2 separate regions of the Homo sapiens genome follow, and region 2 is linked to region 1. The links are contacts of gene promoters, found by promoter capture Hi-C in human tissues and cell types (Jung and others, 2019). All regions are on one chromosome and are shown on one strand. The core of a region is centred on a gene start or on the middle of the fragment in contact, and the rest is flanking DNA. Distances in the headings are between cores, read along the strand shown.

What was found. The method cuts DNA at HindIII sites, captures the fragments that hold promoters and counts their contacts. A contact is called where the count stands out against the background at its distance.
Region 2: a fragment that was not itself captured here is called in contact with the fragment with the promoter of INPP5K in region 1 in 3 of the 25 tissues and cell types used here (dorsolateral prefrontal cortex, spleen and thymus).

What each region holds. Positions count from the first base shown.
Region 1 is chr17:1,513,735-1,521,413 of GRCh38, forward strand. INPP5K (inositol polyphosphate-5-phosphatase K) reads right to left here and starts at 2,878. Exons shown (of 12, transcript NM_016532.4): 1 at 2,722-2,878; 2 at 138-245. The coding sequence starts at 2,765. PITPNA (phosphatidylinositol transfer protein alpha) reads right to left here. Exons shown (of 12, transcript NM_006224.4): 12 at 3,984-6,804. It overlaps PITPNA-AS1 (PITPNA antisense RNA 1), which reads left to right and starts at 3,185. Exons shown (of 2, transcript NR_028514.1): 1 at 3,185-3,359; 2 at 3,984-4,362. RefSeq lists a silencer at 2,964-3,263. The HindIII fragment of the contact is 13,245 bases long and covers 1-7,482 here.
Region 2 is chr17:1,190,506-1,198,184 of GRCh38, forward strand. It overlaps a transcript of ABR not described here. Among named protein-coding and RNA genes, the nearest start is that of ABR-AS1, 13 kb to the left of the region's middle. RefSeq lists enhancers at 7,476-7,525, 7,556-7,679. The HindIII fragment of the contact is 6,525 bases long and covers 1,373-7,679 here.

The DNA.
Region 1 (7,679 bases), core at 1,628-4,127:
GACATGGGACTGTCCCTGAAGCAGGCTGAAAGCTCCCAGCCTTCAGACTCCAGAGCGGAGGAGGGCAGGTCACAGTGCTTCCCACAGGGAAACCTGGGACTGGTCAGGGATGGGCGAAGGAGCCTGCAGATACCTACCCAATAACATATATGTCAAGATTGAGGTTCCGGTTGTTCAGCTGAAGCAGGTCACTGAGATCTAGAGGGGGCGCTGCCGAAGCCACGTTCCAAGTCACGACGTGTATGCTGCGGAAGGGATGCAGAGGGAAGTCATGGAGGAAGGAGGATAAGATAGTGCACGGGGTCGGCTGGGCGCAGAGGCTCACACGTTGTCATCACAGCACTTTGGGCGGCCGAGGTGGGCGGATCACCTGAGGTCGGGAGTTCGAGACAAGCCTGGCCAACATGGTGAAACCCCGTCTCTACTAAAAGTACAAAAATTAGCCCAGCATGGTGGCAGGCGCCTGTAATCCCAGCTACTCTGGAGGCTGAGGCAGGAGAATTGCTTGAACCCACGAGGCAGAGGTTGCAGTGAGCCGACATTGTGCCACTGCACTCCAGCCTGGGTGACAGAGTGAGACTCTGTCTCAAAAGAAAAAAAAAAAAGATAGTGCACGGGGTCTAGGCCTGCTTATGTCACTGCAATCTGCCACACTCATGATGGGAAATGTGGGTTTCTGTGCTGGTGGAGGGAATGGGGATACTGAACCATCAGCTGTCCGTCCTCACCTTTCTCTGCTGAAGCAAGAAATCCCCACCCCGGACTGGGTCCTCCATGCTGGCTCACAGCCACCCACACCCGGCAGCACTGGTGCTGCTGATATAGCAGAGTCGCCAAAGGGAGCCCAAGAATTTCAGGTCAGGCTAGCGAAGGGTTAGGGGGCTGAACTGCCAGGAATGTATTAATTCCATCAGCTCCTCCAGCCACCCACACCCCTCTGTCATCATCTATGGCTCAGTCGGCAACTTCTGATCCCTACTTCTCACCCCAAGTGTTCCTAAGACCACCAGGAAGATCCTAGGGATTCAGATTTCACCTTGTGATAGGCCTCAGCACTACAAGGGCAGAGGAATTTAAAAAATAAAAGAGATAACACCACCATATTCCCTTCCTCTCTCCTCCCTAGCAGATCCCTGGAGCAAGCCAATTTTGCCAAGCACTTCAGCGAGACTTTTTTTTTTTTTTTTTTTGAGACTGAGTCTCACTCTGTTGCCCAGGCTGGAGTGGACTGGGATGATCTCGGCTCATCGCAGCCTCCGCCTCCCAGGTTCCAGCAGTTCTCCTGCCTCAACCTCCCAAGTAGCTGGGATTACAGGTGTGTGCCACCACATCTGGCTAACTTTTGTATTTTTAGTAGAGACGGGGTTTCACCATGTTGGCCAGGCTGGTCCTGAACTCCTGATCTCTCAGGTGATCCGCCCGCCTCAGCCTCCCAAAGTGCTGGGATTACAGGCCTGAGCCACCGCGCCCGGCCAAGGAGTTTTTAAGTAACAGGTTTCTCGACATCTCTCTTAAGAGTCTATGCTCTATGTCTGCGTAGTATTCCGTGAAAAATAAAGAGTACTCTCTGGGGAAAAGTCATCAGTTGGATATTTTCCACCTCAGCTTACAAGTCTTAGGGAAGCAAGAAAACTAGATAAGGGGCCTCAATGACACTGGATCCAGTCAGAGGCTCAGGAAAGAGAGACCTACAGATGTCTTTAGTGGAACAGTCAGTCACAGCAGCTCTTCAAGAAGCCTCAGACTGTGCGGAGCACAGAGCGGGCAGGAGCTACAGACCCTGCAGAGACCAGGAACAGCCTAGCATGAGTCCTAGGCACACGATGAGGAGTACCTGCAGCAGCTGGAGATCTGGAATGGCAGAGGGTACAGGGGGATGGGAGAAAAGGGCAGTTAATGCCAAAACATCTCTCCTCCAACAGACCCCGTCCTTAGAGGTCGACGTTCTCAAAAGCACTTCAAGAAATTCTTGGCCAGTTTAAAGCAACTTCCTGTCCCTCCCTGTTAGCATAAACAACACTATACAGAAACCACCTTCCCAGGCACTCGGCCTGAGATTTTGAGCTTCATTTGTTTACGATCTCCCCCTGCTGTCCGACAGAGGCTTAAGGAACAAAGACCTTTTACTCAGAGACTTCTTTTCCCAGACTCACTCTAAGAGGATGGAGAGCAAAAGTCCGGATTTCTTGTTCCCACTCTCAAATCCGACGATTAGCAGCAAATCCAAGCATCGTGACTTAGACTAAGTGGGCGATTAGCGTTGTTCCCCGTGAAAGAGCAGGCAAGAGACCAGGCTAAGTCACTTCCCTAAAGGATCTTATCTCAATCTGATTTCGGATTCCCGGGGTTCACCATGGGATCAGGCAGACCTCCTGATGTATGTGCTGATGAAAAGTAGGAAAAAGATTTCTAACCGAGAGCCGAAGGGTGACGGCCTCGTTATGTCTTTAACCTCAAACAACCCCACACGGCTGTCCTCTCCAGAAAGCAACCGGGACACCTGCTGCGCCCCAGTGGGAACGAGCTTGGCGGCCTCGGCTTAGAGGGGGCGCGAGGCTCGGGCCCAACACAGCCCACCTGACACAGGCGTGGGAGAAGGCGAGAGCGCCTCTGAACCAAAGGCAGTCATGGAGGTCTGGTGCCTTGTCCACCCCCAGCCCGCAGCCCAAGGGGCGCCGATCCCCCCGAGCAGGCCTGCCTCTGCCGCCAGGGTGCCCTCACCTGAGCCTCCTGCCTTTCGGCCCGCTCAGCTTCCGCGAGCTCATGGCCGCCGTCGTCCCCGCGCGGTGGTCCGGCAGGTTCGCGTCTCCCGGCCAGCGGGTCCCGGCCAGAGCAGCCCTGCGGGCGGCCGGTCTCACGCGCCTAGCTGTCGCGGACTGTTTTTCTTCCGGACTCCGACCGTCCGCCCCGGCTTCCGTCAGAGACGCGCCCTCCGCGCACCCCGGGATCTGGGTGGTGCGGTTCGCAGAAGGAGGCGGGACTCTCCCACGAGCGCAAAGCTGCGAGAGGCTGAGCGAAGACGGGTTCGCGGACGTAAGAGGGGCGTGTCGGGCCTGTCATCAGCGCACGCGCAACACTGCCCCAGACGACGCGAGGTGTGCGGCCGCCACTAGACCCGGCCCAGCCCGCGCCCGCCGTCCGCAGCTCCCAGCGTGCCCCGCGCCAGGGGCCGTCTTCCGGCGGAAGTTGTCTCTTCGCCGCCGCCGCAGCCTCTGCCCCACTCGTGAGGGATCCGAGGGCTCCGTCCTTGTGCTGTCTTCGCCCCGGCTCCCAGGGGTCAAACGAGGGTCGGGGGTGGGGACACGCAGCCTAGCCACTGTCCTGCCTGGGATCCGGTCTCCCCCGCCCCCCGGCTGCAGGTAATCTCCCCATTCCTGCTACTGCGGGAGCGCCTCCGTTCTCCACGCCCACTTTCAGGCTTCTACTCCAAACTTATTGGATTACCTATTGCATATGGGACGTTTGGGGATTCCTGGACTCCTACAGAATTAGCCGTCAATAAATGAAACGTAGGCCGGGGCGCGGTGGCTCAATGCCTGTAATCCCAGCACTTTGGGAGGCCGAGGCGGGCGGCTCACTTGAGGTCAGGAGTTTAAGACCAGCCTGGCCTTAACATGGTGAAACCCCGTCTCTGCTAAAAACACAAAAGCTAGCTGGGCTTGATAGCGCGCGCCTGTTAATCCCAGCTACTCGGGAGGCTGAGGCAGGAGAATCGCCTGAACCCGGGAGGTGGAGGTTGCAGTGAGCCGAGATTGCGCCACTGCACCCCAGCCTGCGCGACAGAGCGAGACTTCGTTTCAAAAAAAAAAAATAATAATAATAATTAGCCGAGATGGGGTTTCGCCATGTTGGTCAGGCTGGTCTCGAACTCCTGACCTCAGCTGATCCACCCGCCTCGGCCTCCCAGAGTGCTGCGATTTCAGGTGTGAGCCACCGCGCCCGGCCTAAAACTACTTTAAATAAATGTTTTGCTTGTTTGGTAGGGTGGATAAAGAGGAAGATGTGAAGAGGAGGCAGACAAAAGCAAAAGGACATCCTGTCAGTAGGAAACGGCCGAATTACAATTCAGATGTGCAATGTTTGCATAAGTAAACTGACACGGGACTATTATATGCAGAAATCCACGTGCAAAAATTTTCAGACACACCTTTGTACCTCTTCCTAATCCTGCCCTGGTAAAATGGCGGTTATCAGTGCAAGTTTGAGGATACATACAGCTGGAAAATGGACATCACCAAACTGGACTCCAGAAAGTTCTGTCTAGGATTTTATTAGACTGCTTTTTTTCTCAATATACCTGTATTGGAAGATTGAGACAAAAAGGCACAAACTCACATTAAATAAACAAGGTAATCTAATCAATTCTACAAAGTGTAGTTTGTAAAACAAGTAGCACTAGGAACCAACCAAAGTAAGTCAGGGAGTCCCAGCAGGGACTGTAAAAGAACTTGGGAAGCTATACACATGCCCACGATACTGACCCTGTCCCGGACCTCTCTGCATGAGAAGGCCAGAGCCCAGCACCCCTCCTACAGAGGCACTGCTGCTTCTGTTGGGGCTGTGACCCTGGAATTCTGATGGAAGCAGCTGGTCTGAAGGGGCATGGCACACACTCAGGTACTACCCCTGGAGCTGAACCTTTATCATAAGTCCCTCTGAGTGCTAGTCAGTTTGGAGGTGGGTGAGGAGGAAAGGGGGTACTTAAAAGAAGCCAACACTGTTGCCCAGCAGCAACACCATCCGTGGGGATGGAACAGACCAGGGACATCCTCCTTTATGTTTATGTGGGCTGCAATTCCAGATCCAGGCTGACCTCAGCTCATAATGGATGCTTTTCAACTGGGGCAACAGGTGGAGGTGGGAGGAGCCCTTGTTAGGGCTAAAGTGATATGTGTGGGTCTCAAGAGCCAAAGGAAGGAGACTAACAGCTGCTGACCCTCAGACCACATAGACAACTGTCTGCCTAGAATGTCAGTTTGTTTCTTTCAAGATAACCCGCATCTGGACTTCCCCTAGTTGATGAATGAAGGAACATCTTTAAGCACAAATATAATGAATAGCTAACACAGAGCTTATAGGAAAACACTGACATTTTTCTCCAGTAGGAATGCCTCTTCTCCAACTTTCCAAGTCAGATAAATGCTACCAGCAGTTGAGATGCTACCCAGATGCATTACTAAAGACCCCTCAAGGTGAGGAGACTTACACAGAGGAAGGTGTCTGTAACAAGACATCTGGTTCCAAAGGGACCTCAATGAAGGTCAGCGCTAACCATGCTGGGGGTCTGAGTCTGTCCACCCTTGCCCCAGGAGGGCCACAGGGAAGCATCCATCAGGATGTCACAGGTGCAATCCTGTGAGACACTCCCTTATTGCACTTAGAAATGAGTAAGGCAAACAAACTGACAAAAACAGGATACATTCTCCCACCCACTTCTTGCTTCCCGGACAAAGATTTGGTCTCCCATTAGCAGATGCACCCAGGCTAGTGTGGGCTGGGATCACGGCACACTTAGGCCAACGTGCTTCACAAGGTTTGGGGAATGTCAGGTGACACTACAGCTCTCTCTCATTCTCCCACTAAGAGGCAAACTCAGGCTCTGTCAAGTTGCAGGAAGCTATGAACACTGGGCAGCGTCTGTTCCCCTGGAGCCTGGACTTCCTCACCAGCCTACTTTGGTCGGGTTCTGTACTATGATCACTACTTGCTTTGGGTTTTCCAGGGCAGAACTCAACATGGGGGTAGGACGAGCTAAGTTCTTGATCCCCAAATTCCTTTCCGGCAACTGGAGACGAGGGAACATGTTCTGCTGGAAAAAGCTTTTTGCATGCTCATATTGTGCAGCATGAAAGATCAGGACTCTTGCTTCCTAACCAGCCTCAAAGACAGAGGACAGGGACCTAAGAAAGCACAGAGAAAAGAGGATTATTGCTGAGTGGCAGCACCAGCCCCAAAGGGAAGAGGAGGAGCAGGGACTTACAGAGCTCCTCGGGGTCAGACAGTTGGTATCTAGGGGGTGACTCAATTCTAGGGGCCACACTGGACAATTCCCTCCAAGTGGAGAGTTGACTGGGGCGATTTTGTAGACTGCAGAGAGATTCAGAGCGGGCAACAGGAGGGCCAAGAAGCCACAGGTGTTTCTAAGAGTAGTAACTAGAGATTCAGTGATTGGGACAGGGTTACTCGTATTTGTTAAATTTTCTTAAATAGAGACTGGCTGAGCCTTGGGTACCTCCATAGTGCTAGAGTGCCCTAACGATGGGTTACTGGGAGCAGAAGTCAGAGCTGCAAAACCACATTGCTATTTTGTGGAAGCGGTGCGGGGCAGGGAAACATTGTATCTTTAGCTCATCCCCGCTCCCCACAGGAGCACTCAAAATTGCGAAGATCTTCCCAGGAAGCAAAATACCTCAGTTTACCCCAAGGTTGAGAACAAATGAACTTAAATCATTTAAATCACCACATCACAAAAGGCAGCTATTTGAAAGACTGAAAATGTCACTTGGAAATAAAGGTTGGGGGAACACACAGAAATGGATCGGAACACAATGGAGAGAGACGGAGGCGCTGTAACTACAGCAACCTACACGCCACGTATCTCGGAGGAGCAGGCTCCTGCACACGCGGGCTCTGTGACACCAGACGGTCTATTTGTTCACAATACTGAAGGGCATCTAGAATTAGCTACAGTAAGGAATCGAAAGTTGCCTGAAGAATGGGCACAGAACGGCTGCGTCCGAAAATGGCCTGTCACTTGGGAGGGTGGAGCTGCTGGGTCTTCCTGTTGACCACTGTCTTGCAAAACTAGAAGAAAAATGAAAGTATTAAGGAAGCAAGAGGAGAAAACAGAAACACTGTAAATCGTCCTGAATGGATAATTTCAAGAGGAGGAGGGAAGCCAGTGGGTGGGTGGGGAAGGGAGTGGGGGAGAGCACTGAGGCCCAGAGCAGTGACTGAGAAGCTGGCATCACAGCAGTCCGCCTCATTCCACCCTCCAGCCTCCCCGAGGCTGCTTTGGGAACATGGGGCAGGGAGAGTAAGCAGGGCCTGCCGTCACTCCTGGTGAGACCCTGGCCCTCCTTGCCCGTAGGGTTAGAGGCCAGCTTTTATTTGTAAAAATAATTTTCTCTCTGAGGCTAATTGGGAGCAGAGCCAGGTTTTTCATTCAGTGATTAAGACTGCTTTGAGCTGCTGGAATCCCATGACTCGGGTGGTGTACAGGGCACTGGGAAACCAGCACCGAGAGTTAACGGAAGGAGGGGGCTTGGGGAAAAGTGACAACATGAAACAAGGGGCCCCCAATCTGGCCCTGTGACCTGGGCAGAAACACCCTCCCAGCATCTGAAAGATGCCACCTCTGATGAGGGCAGCTTAGTATGGGATCGGGGGTATAAAGAAGGAAATGAAGCACCAGACAACAGTGGGTGCTAACAAAAGCTGTCTGGCCAGCAAGTTTTCCAAGGGGGAAGGGCAGGTAATGGCAGCTTTTGGGAGCTGGCGCTGGCGTGGGAAGGCCAGGGAGTGCCCAACATGACAGCTGCAACTTGAGATGGATCAAGCTGGCAGACAGGAGGAGTGATTCGCAGCAGATGAACTCCCCTTCTATATCCACCACCCCCTCCCTGTCCATTGTCTCTATCTGGGTGGTTCTTTGGAAAATGTCCCTGAAATGTCCCAAG
Region 2 (7,679 bases), core at 3,385-5,884, 320 kb before region 1:
TGCCTGTAATCCCACCTACTCAGGAGACTGAGGCAGGAGAATCGCTTGAACCCAGAAGGCGGAAGTGGAGGTTGCAGTGAGCTGAGATCGTGCCACTGCACTCCAGCCTGGGCAAGAGAGTGAGGCTCCATCTCAAAAAAACACACACAAAAAAACTTATGTTTCGGGGAGGGAGGTAAACAGTAGCTCTTCCCTGGGAAGAAAGCAGTTTCTAGGTGGGTGCCCGTCCCGTCTGCTCTCGCCGTCTGCTGGGATTCCGAGAAAGAAGATGCTGGTTGCTCACGGTATGCTCAACCCCTCTGCCCCACGGCGCTGCAGGCGAAGCTGTGAGTCACCAGCTCCCAGGAATGACTTTGATGAACCTCCAACCAGACAGATGGAAAATCTGGCTTTCAGTTCAATGATGGGAGAAATATGATAGAAATGGATTCTGGGCCCTCACGCTCCCAAGGGGCTGGCCTGAGCGAGTCTGCAGGGCCTGACAGACAGGGCTTGGGCACGACTTCTGCGGCTGCAGATTGCGCTGGGCCATGGTAACCACCACGCCGGCCCGAGGGCGCTATACAGTGCGACACCAGACTCCAGGTCTGCTGGGGGCCTGTGCCCAGGGGAGAGGCTCCTTTCCATGTTCCCGTCACCAAAACAAAGAAATAAACAAAACAACCAATGTCAAATCAAGATCCGGTTCTCGGGCCTCGAGTTTGTAAAGATCCAGAAAGCCACCCCAGCAGACGGCGGTTGGTCTGCCAGCTTCCCGCCAGCCTCCCGCCAAGCTTCCTGCCAGCTTCTCACCAGCTTCTCACCCCCGCCTAGTAACGATGTTCTGGATGTTCCAGCATTTTTCTTTTCTTTTTTTTTTTTTTTTTTTTTGAGACAGAGTCTCCCTCTGTTGCCCAGGCTGGAGTGCAGTGGCGCAATCTCAGCTCACTGCAACCTCCACCTCCCGGGTTCAAGCGATTCTCCTGTCTCAGCCTCCCGAGTAGCTGGGACTACAGGCGCCCGCCACCATGCCCAGCAATTTTGTATTTTTAGTAGAAACGGGGTTTCTCCATGTTGGTCAGGCTGGTCTCGAACTCCTGACCTCAGGTGATCCACCTGCCTTGGCCTCCCAAAGTGCTGGGACTCCAGGCGTGAGCACCTGGCCTGTTCTGACATATTCAATAGTGTCAGGGTTCTTCTGTCTCCTGAAATGAGGGGCCTGTTGAAAGCAGTAGGGGTGTGGAAGAAGAACAGAGGGTAACATAGAAACGAGGCAGCAAACACTTGCACCTGCTACCTGCGCCCAGGCTGCCGTCAGGACTCTGCATGTATTAAATCACTTCATTGTCACCGTGCCACACGACCGCTCCAGGAGCCACACATGAGCCCCTCAACACTCTGCTGCCTTTCTCCAACAGGAGGGAAAGAGCGCTCGACCGAGCACAGCCTGAATCCAGCTGCTGGTTCTGCCACTAACTTGCTGTGTGACTCTGAAGAACTGCCTTTCCCTGTCTGTCCCTTGATGTTCTCACCTCGACACGAAGAGATGTAAGTCCCAGGCAGTAGCTGATAAAGGAAGGGGGAAACTTTCCTGTTTCCCGCCCTTCAGTTCCTATATTCCAGGAAGTTTAATGGGTTTTCAGGGCTAGAAAAGTTATTATTATTATTATTTTGTAGAGCCAGAGTCTCACTATGTTACCCAGGCTGGTCTCGAACTCGTAGGCTCAAGCAATCCTCCTGCCTCATCCTCCCAAAGTGCTGGGATTACAGGCATGAGCCACGGCGCCCTGCAGAAAAGTTACTTATTATTTCACTGAATATTCCCTGAGCCCTACTGTATAAACCAGAGTTCCTTTTCCCAGGCTGCTTATGATAATAGACTTCAGACATGCCCAGAAATCACAGAGAGGGAAAGACAGACAGTGGTCTGGACAGTGAGTTATGGAGGGGGCAGGAGGGAGGTACCACTTCAAACTGAGCTGATGACTAAAAGCTTCTAGAAAGAATGTGAGCTGGGCACGGGGGCTCACACCTGTAATCCCAGCATTCTGGGAGGCCGAGGTGGGCGGATCACCTGAGGCCACGAGTTCAAGACCAGCCTGGCCAACATGGTGAAATCCCGTCTCTGCTAAAAATACAAAAAATTAGCTGGGCATGGTGGAAGGCACCTGTAATTCCAGCACTTTGGGAGGCCGAGGCAGGAGGATCACCCGAGGCCACGAGTTCAAGACCAGCCTGGCCAACATGGTGAAACCCCGTCTCTACTAAAAATACAAAAAAATAGCTGGGCGTGGTGGAAGGCACCTATAATCCCAGCACTTTGGGAGGCTGAGGCAGGTGGATCACCTGAGGTTGGGAGTTTGAGAGCAGCCTGACCAATATGGTGAAACCCCCTCTCTACTAAAAATAGAAAATTAGTGGGGTGTGGTGGCGGGCGCCTGTAATCCCAGCTACTGGGGAGGCTGAGGCAGGAGAATCCCTTGAACCCAGGAGGCGGAGGCTGTAGTGAGCCGAGATTGCGCCATTGCACTCCAGCCTGAGCAAAAAGAGCGAAACTCTATCTCAAAACAAAAAACAAAACAAAACAAAAACTTGCACAGAGGCAGACGTGGAAATGGAGCGAAGAGCTAGAATGGATGACTGTGGAGAAGGTTCTTTTGGGAACTGGGGGCGAATATAGAAACTGCTACTAATCTAACGTGTGGCCTCAGCATGAATTCAGGAAAACAACAGAATTAGCAGCTTTTCTTAGATCCACCTTATAGAGAAGCCTTTCTGGGACACCCCCTCCCCCTCAATACCCACAAGGATTCAGGACTCCCCCGCTCTCCCGGCGAGTTTGCTGAACGCCCTTCGGCCGACGTGTCCCGAGCATCGCCAGTATTTACGTTCTAGGCACCCTGTTAAGCACGTAACCTTCACTCTTCGCAAGCAGCCTCTCTATGTGGAAGCCACAGTCACCACGCCCGCTTTACAGAAGAGGCTCAAGTTCACACTGCTAGTGAGTGACAGAGCCAAGTTCTCACTCGGGTCTGGCTCGGTCCAGAGCAATTGTACCTGGCCACCAGTCCTGAAGCTTCAGGAAAGCATCCTGACCAGATGCCGCCCGACATTCACTCAGGAAGAGCTCGGTTTCCAGCACGCCAGGGAGTACTGGCAACTGACGCTAATTCAAGCACATCAGTGCAGCCCTTTTTGTTTGTGTGTTTTTATGTTTGAGATAGAGTCTCCCTCTGTCCCCCAGGCTGGAGTGTGGAGTGCAGTGGCACAATCTCGGCTCACTGCATCCTCCGCCTCCCAGGTTGAAGCGATTCACCTGCCTCAGCCTCCTGAATAACTGGGACTACAGGCACCCGCCACCACGCCCAGCTAATTTTTTTTTTGTATTTTTAATAGAGACGGGGTTTCACCGTGTTAGCCAGGATGGTTTTGATCTCCTGACCTCGTGATCTGCCCACCTTGGCCTCTCAAAGTGCTGGGATAACAGGCGTGAGCCCCGCGCCTGGCCACTGCAGCTCTTAAAGCTTACTCTCCAGGGGAAGTGGCAGAGGAAGGAAGACACAAAGATGAATTTCCATCCTCTTTCTCCTCTACTGAAATCTGACAAGCTCCTGGGTCTTTTGATTTCTCCTTGAACATGAGGTTTGTACCTGGAGGATCTCTGGTGGCAAGGGTGTTTCCTTTGTTTTTTTTTATTTATTTATATTTTGATTGATTGATTGAGACAGAGTCTCTCTCTGTCGCCCAGGCTGGAGTGCAATGGCACGATCTTGGCTCACTGCAACCTCCGCCTCCCGGGTTCAAGTAATTCTCTTGCCTCAGCCTCCCAAGTAGCTAAGATTACAGGTACACGCCACCACGCCCAGCTATTTTTTTGTTTTGTTTTGTATTTTTAGTAGAGAGGGGTTTCACCATGTTGGCCATGCTGGTCTCAACTCCTGACCTCAGGTGATCTGCCTGCCTCGTCTTCCCAAAGTGCTGGGATTACAGGTGTGAGACACTTCGCCCAGCCTTCTTTATTTTTTAGAGACAAGTCTCACTCTATCGCCCAGACTGGAGTGTAGTGGTGCAATCATAGCTCACTACAGTCTCGACCTCCCAGGCTCAAGCCATCCCCCTGCCTCAACTTCTTGCATAGCTAGGACTACAGGCATGCACCACCACACCCAGCTAATTTTTTTTTTTTTAAGATGGAGTCTCGCTCTGTTGCCCAGGCTGGAGTGCAGTGGTGCGGTCTCAGCTCACTGCAACCTCCACCTCCCGGGTTCAAGCAATCCTCCTGCCTCAGCCCCCCTAGTAGCTGGGATTACAGGCATGTGCCACCATGCCCTAAAAATTTTGTATTTTTAGTAGAGACAGGGTTTCGCCATGTTGGCCAGACTGGTCTCGAACTCCTGACTCAGGTGATTCACCCACCTCGGCCTCCTAAAGTGCTGGAATTACAGGTGTGAGCCACCGCGCCCGACCCTAATTTTTTTTTTAATTTTGTACAGACAGAACCTCACTATGTTGCCCAGGCTGCTCTTGAAGTCCTGGCCTCAGGCCAGGCGCGGTGGCTCACGCCTGTAATCCCAGCACTTTGGGAGGCCGAGGCGGGCGGATCACGAGGTCAGGAGATCGAGACCATCCTGGCTAACACGGTGAAACCCCGTCTCTACTAAAAATACAAAAAATTAGCCGGGCGCAGTGGCGGGCGCCTGTAGTCCCAGCTACTCGGGAGGCTGAGGCAGGAGAATGGCGTGAACCCGGAAGGCGGAGCTTGCAGTGAGCGGAGATCGCGCCACAGCACTCCAGCCTGGGCGACAGAATGAGACTGTCTCAAAAAAAAAAAAAAGTCCTGGCCTCAAAGGATCCTCCCACCTTGGCCTCTCCAAGTGCTGGGATTACAGGCGTGAGCCATCAGGCCCGGCCCTTAAGGGTGTTTTCTACTGCTACAGTGATTAACTAGTCTCTGGTGTATCTCTCTCCCAAAGGCAGCCCCCAGCCCTGCCTGACCCAGGCTCAGCAAGTAGCGTAAGGAGCATTTTAAAGAAAATTATTGGCTGGGCAGTGGCTCACGCCTGTCATCCCAGCACTGTGGGAGGCCGAGGCGGGTGGATCACGAGGTCAGGAGATCGAGACCATCCTGGCTAACACGGTGAAACCCCGTCTCTACTAAAAATACAACAAATTAGCCGGGCGTGGTGGTGGGCGCCTGTAGTCCCAGCTACACAGGAGGCTGAGGCAGGAGAATGGTGTGAACCCGGGAGGCAAAGGTTGCAGTGAGCCGAGATCGTGTCACTGCACTCCAGCCTGCGCAACAGAGCGAGACTCTGTCTCAAAAAAAAAAAATTATTGGCCGGCGCGGTGGCTCACGCCTGTAATCCCAGAACTTTGGGAAGGCAAGTTGGGATTGTGGGGAGAGATCACTTGAGGTCAGGGATCACTTGAGGTCAGGAGTGCGAGACGAGCCTGGGCAACATGGCAAAACCCCATCTCTACTAAAAATACAAAAATTAGCCAGGCATGGTAGCAGGTGCCTGTAATCCCAGGTACTCAGGTGGCTGAGGCACGAGGATCGCTTGAACCAAGAAGGAGAAGGTTGCAGTGAGCCGAGATCACGACACTGCACTCCAGCCTGAGCAACAGAGCGAGATTCTGTCTCAAAAAAAAAAAAAAAAATAGGCAAGGTGCGGTGGCTCACGCCTATAATCCCGGCACTTTGGGAGGCCGAGGCAGGCGGATCACCTGAGGTCAGGAGTTCAAGACCAGCCTGGCCAACATGGCGAAACCCTCTTTCTACTACAAATACAAAAATTAGCTGGGCATGGTGGCACGTGCCTGTAATCCCAGCTACTCGGGAGGCTGAGGCAGGAGAATCACTTGAACCCAGGAGGTGGAGGTCACAGTGAGCTGACATCACACCACTGCACTCCAGCCTGGGTGACAAGAGTGAAAACTCTGGCCCAAAAAACAAATTAATTAATTAAATTTAATTTAGAAAAGATTTCTTAGCTAACTTCTCAGAGGAACATAGGACAAAACTGGGTATTAACTCTACATCCTGCCTCACCCACCCCCTCCCTAAATGTTGATGACTCTGTTGCCCTGGGCTTACCAAAGAGCAGCCACACACACAGAACTTTCTGAAAAATCCTGTCAGTGCTCTGAACAAGGCTCGAGTCCCTGGGAGAAGACGGCACCACAGGAAGCTACAGGAGATCCAACCTTCCTTTTTTTTTTTTTTTTGAGACGGAGTCTTGCTCTGTCGCCCAGGCTGGAGTGCAGTGGCGCGATCCTGGCTCACCGCAAGCTCCGCCTCCCGGGTTCATGCCATTCTCCTGCCTCAGCCTCCCGAGTAGCTGGGACTACAGGCGCCCACCACCGTGCCCGGCTAATTTTTTGTATTTTTAGTAGAGATGGGGTTTCACCGTGTTAGCCAGGATGGTCTCAATCTCCTGACCTCGTGATCCATCCGCCTCGGCCTCCCAAAGTGCTGGGATGACAGGCGTGAGCCACCGCACCCGGCCAAGATCCGCCTTCCTAAGGAAGGACCCTGTGCTGCTCAGAAACCTTCCCAAATGCTCCGGGAACCCCGGCTCCCCTGCAGTGCCTCCTGGACAGACGCATCCTGCAACGCTCCAGAGGGTATCGGATCTCGGGGGCATCTCTTTCTTCAAGGCAGCCCCCAGCCCTGCCTGGCCCAGGCTCGGATGAGCATTGCAAGGAGCACTTTAAGGAGAGTCACTCCTATTTCAGAGCCTCTGGGAAACAGGCCGTGATCTCCTGCTGTGGCGCAGGGAGGGTTTGGCTGGAGGCTCTGAGCTGGAGCCACCTCCACTTAATGCTGGAGTGAATGATTTCAAACCTCTGTCTCTGCGGGTTTGAAAAAAATTGGGCAGGGTCAGCCCCATGCCCCATTTTTGGTCTGAGAGGTTGGAGAGAGAAAGACACCATCCCTCTGGCTCCTGACCGGTCATTCTGAAGCCTTGAGCTCTAGGAGCCTCCTCGGATCTTAGCCACAGCTCTGATGAAACCTCACCCTAATCCCCTTCTCGTGGCCCACAGCCTTCTAGACACTCATTGCCCAAACCCCTGCATGAGTTATTTTCCCAGTTGCTGTTTCTGTCTGATTGTGAAAGATTCTTTCCTCCCAAAAGCCACATGCCTGTCACATGAGGGGAGTGCCAGACCACCAGCAGAGAGGGGGAGGGTGCTGGGAAGTCTTCTTTCCTGGACCCCAGGCTGGTCCCCTGAGTCTTGGGGAGTGGCTCCTGATTGCTCCCTATAGCCAACATCCCAGGGAGCTTGGGATCACACTGGAGGGAAGATCAGCGCTCACCCAAACCAGACCGTGACTTGGTTTTCCCCAGAGAGCAGTATCTATGGTGTCCCCACCTAAGACCTAACTGGAGCTGGGCTCCTCAGACCACTGGCTTTGGGGGCAAATACACCCTGCTGACTGTCAGATCAAAGCCATGCTGCAGGCAGCTGAGACAGGAACACTGCCGCTGCTGCTGCGCCCGGCTGGCCGCAGCCCCACGCTGTGGGTTAGTTCTTTGGGGGCCCTAAAGGAGAGCTGAGCTGTCGCCTTCTGGACATAAAGGAGCTGCTTTTGCAAAAGAGACTGTATCTGCCCCCTGCCACAACTAACCAGAAATGAGGAAGCTGCCACAGAGAAGCCTCCCAGTCTCTGGGGCTGCGGGTTCTGTCTGCTCCCC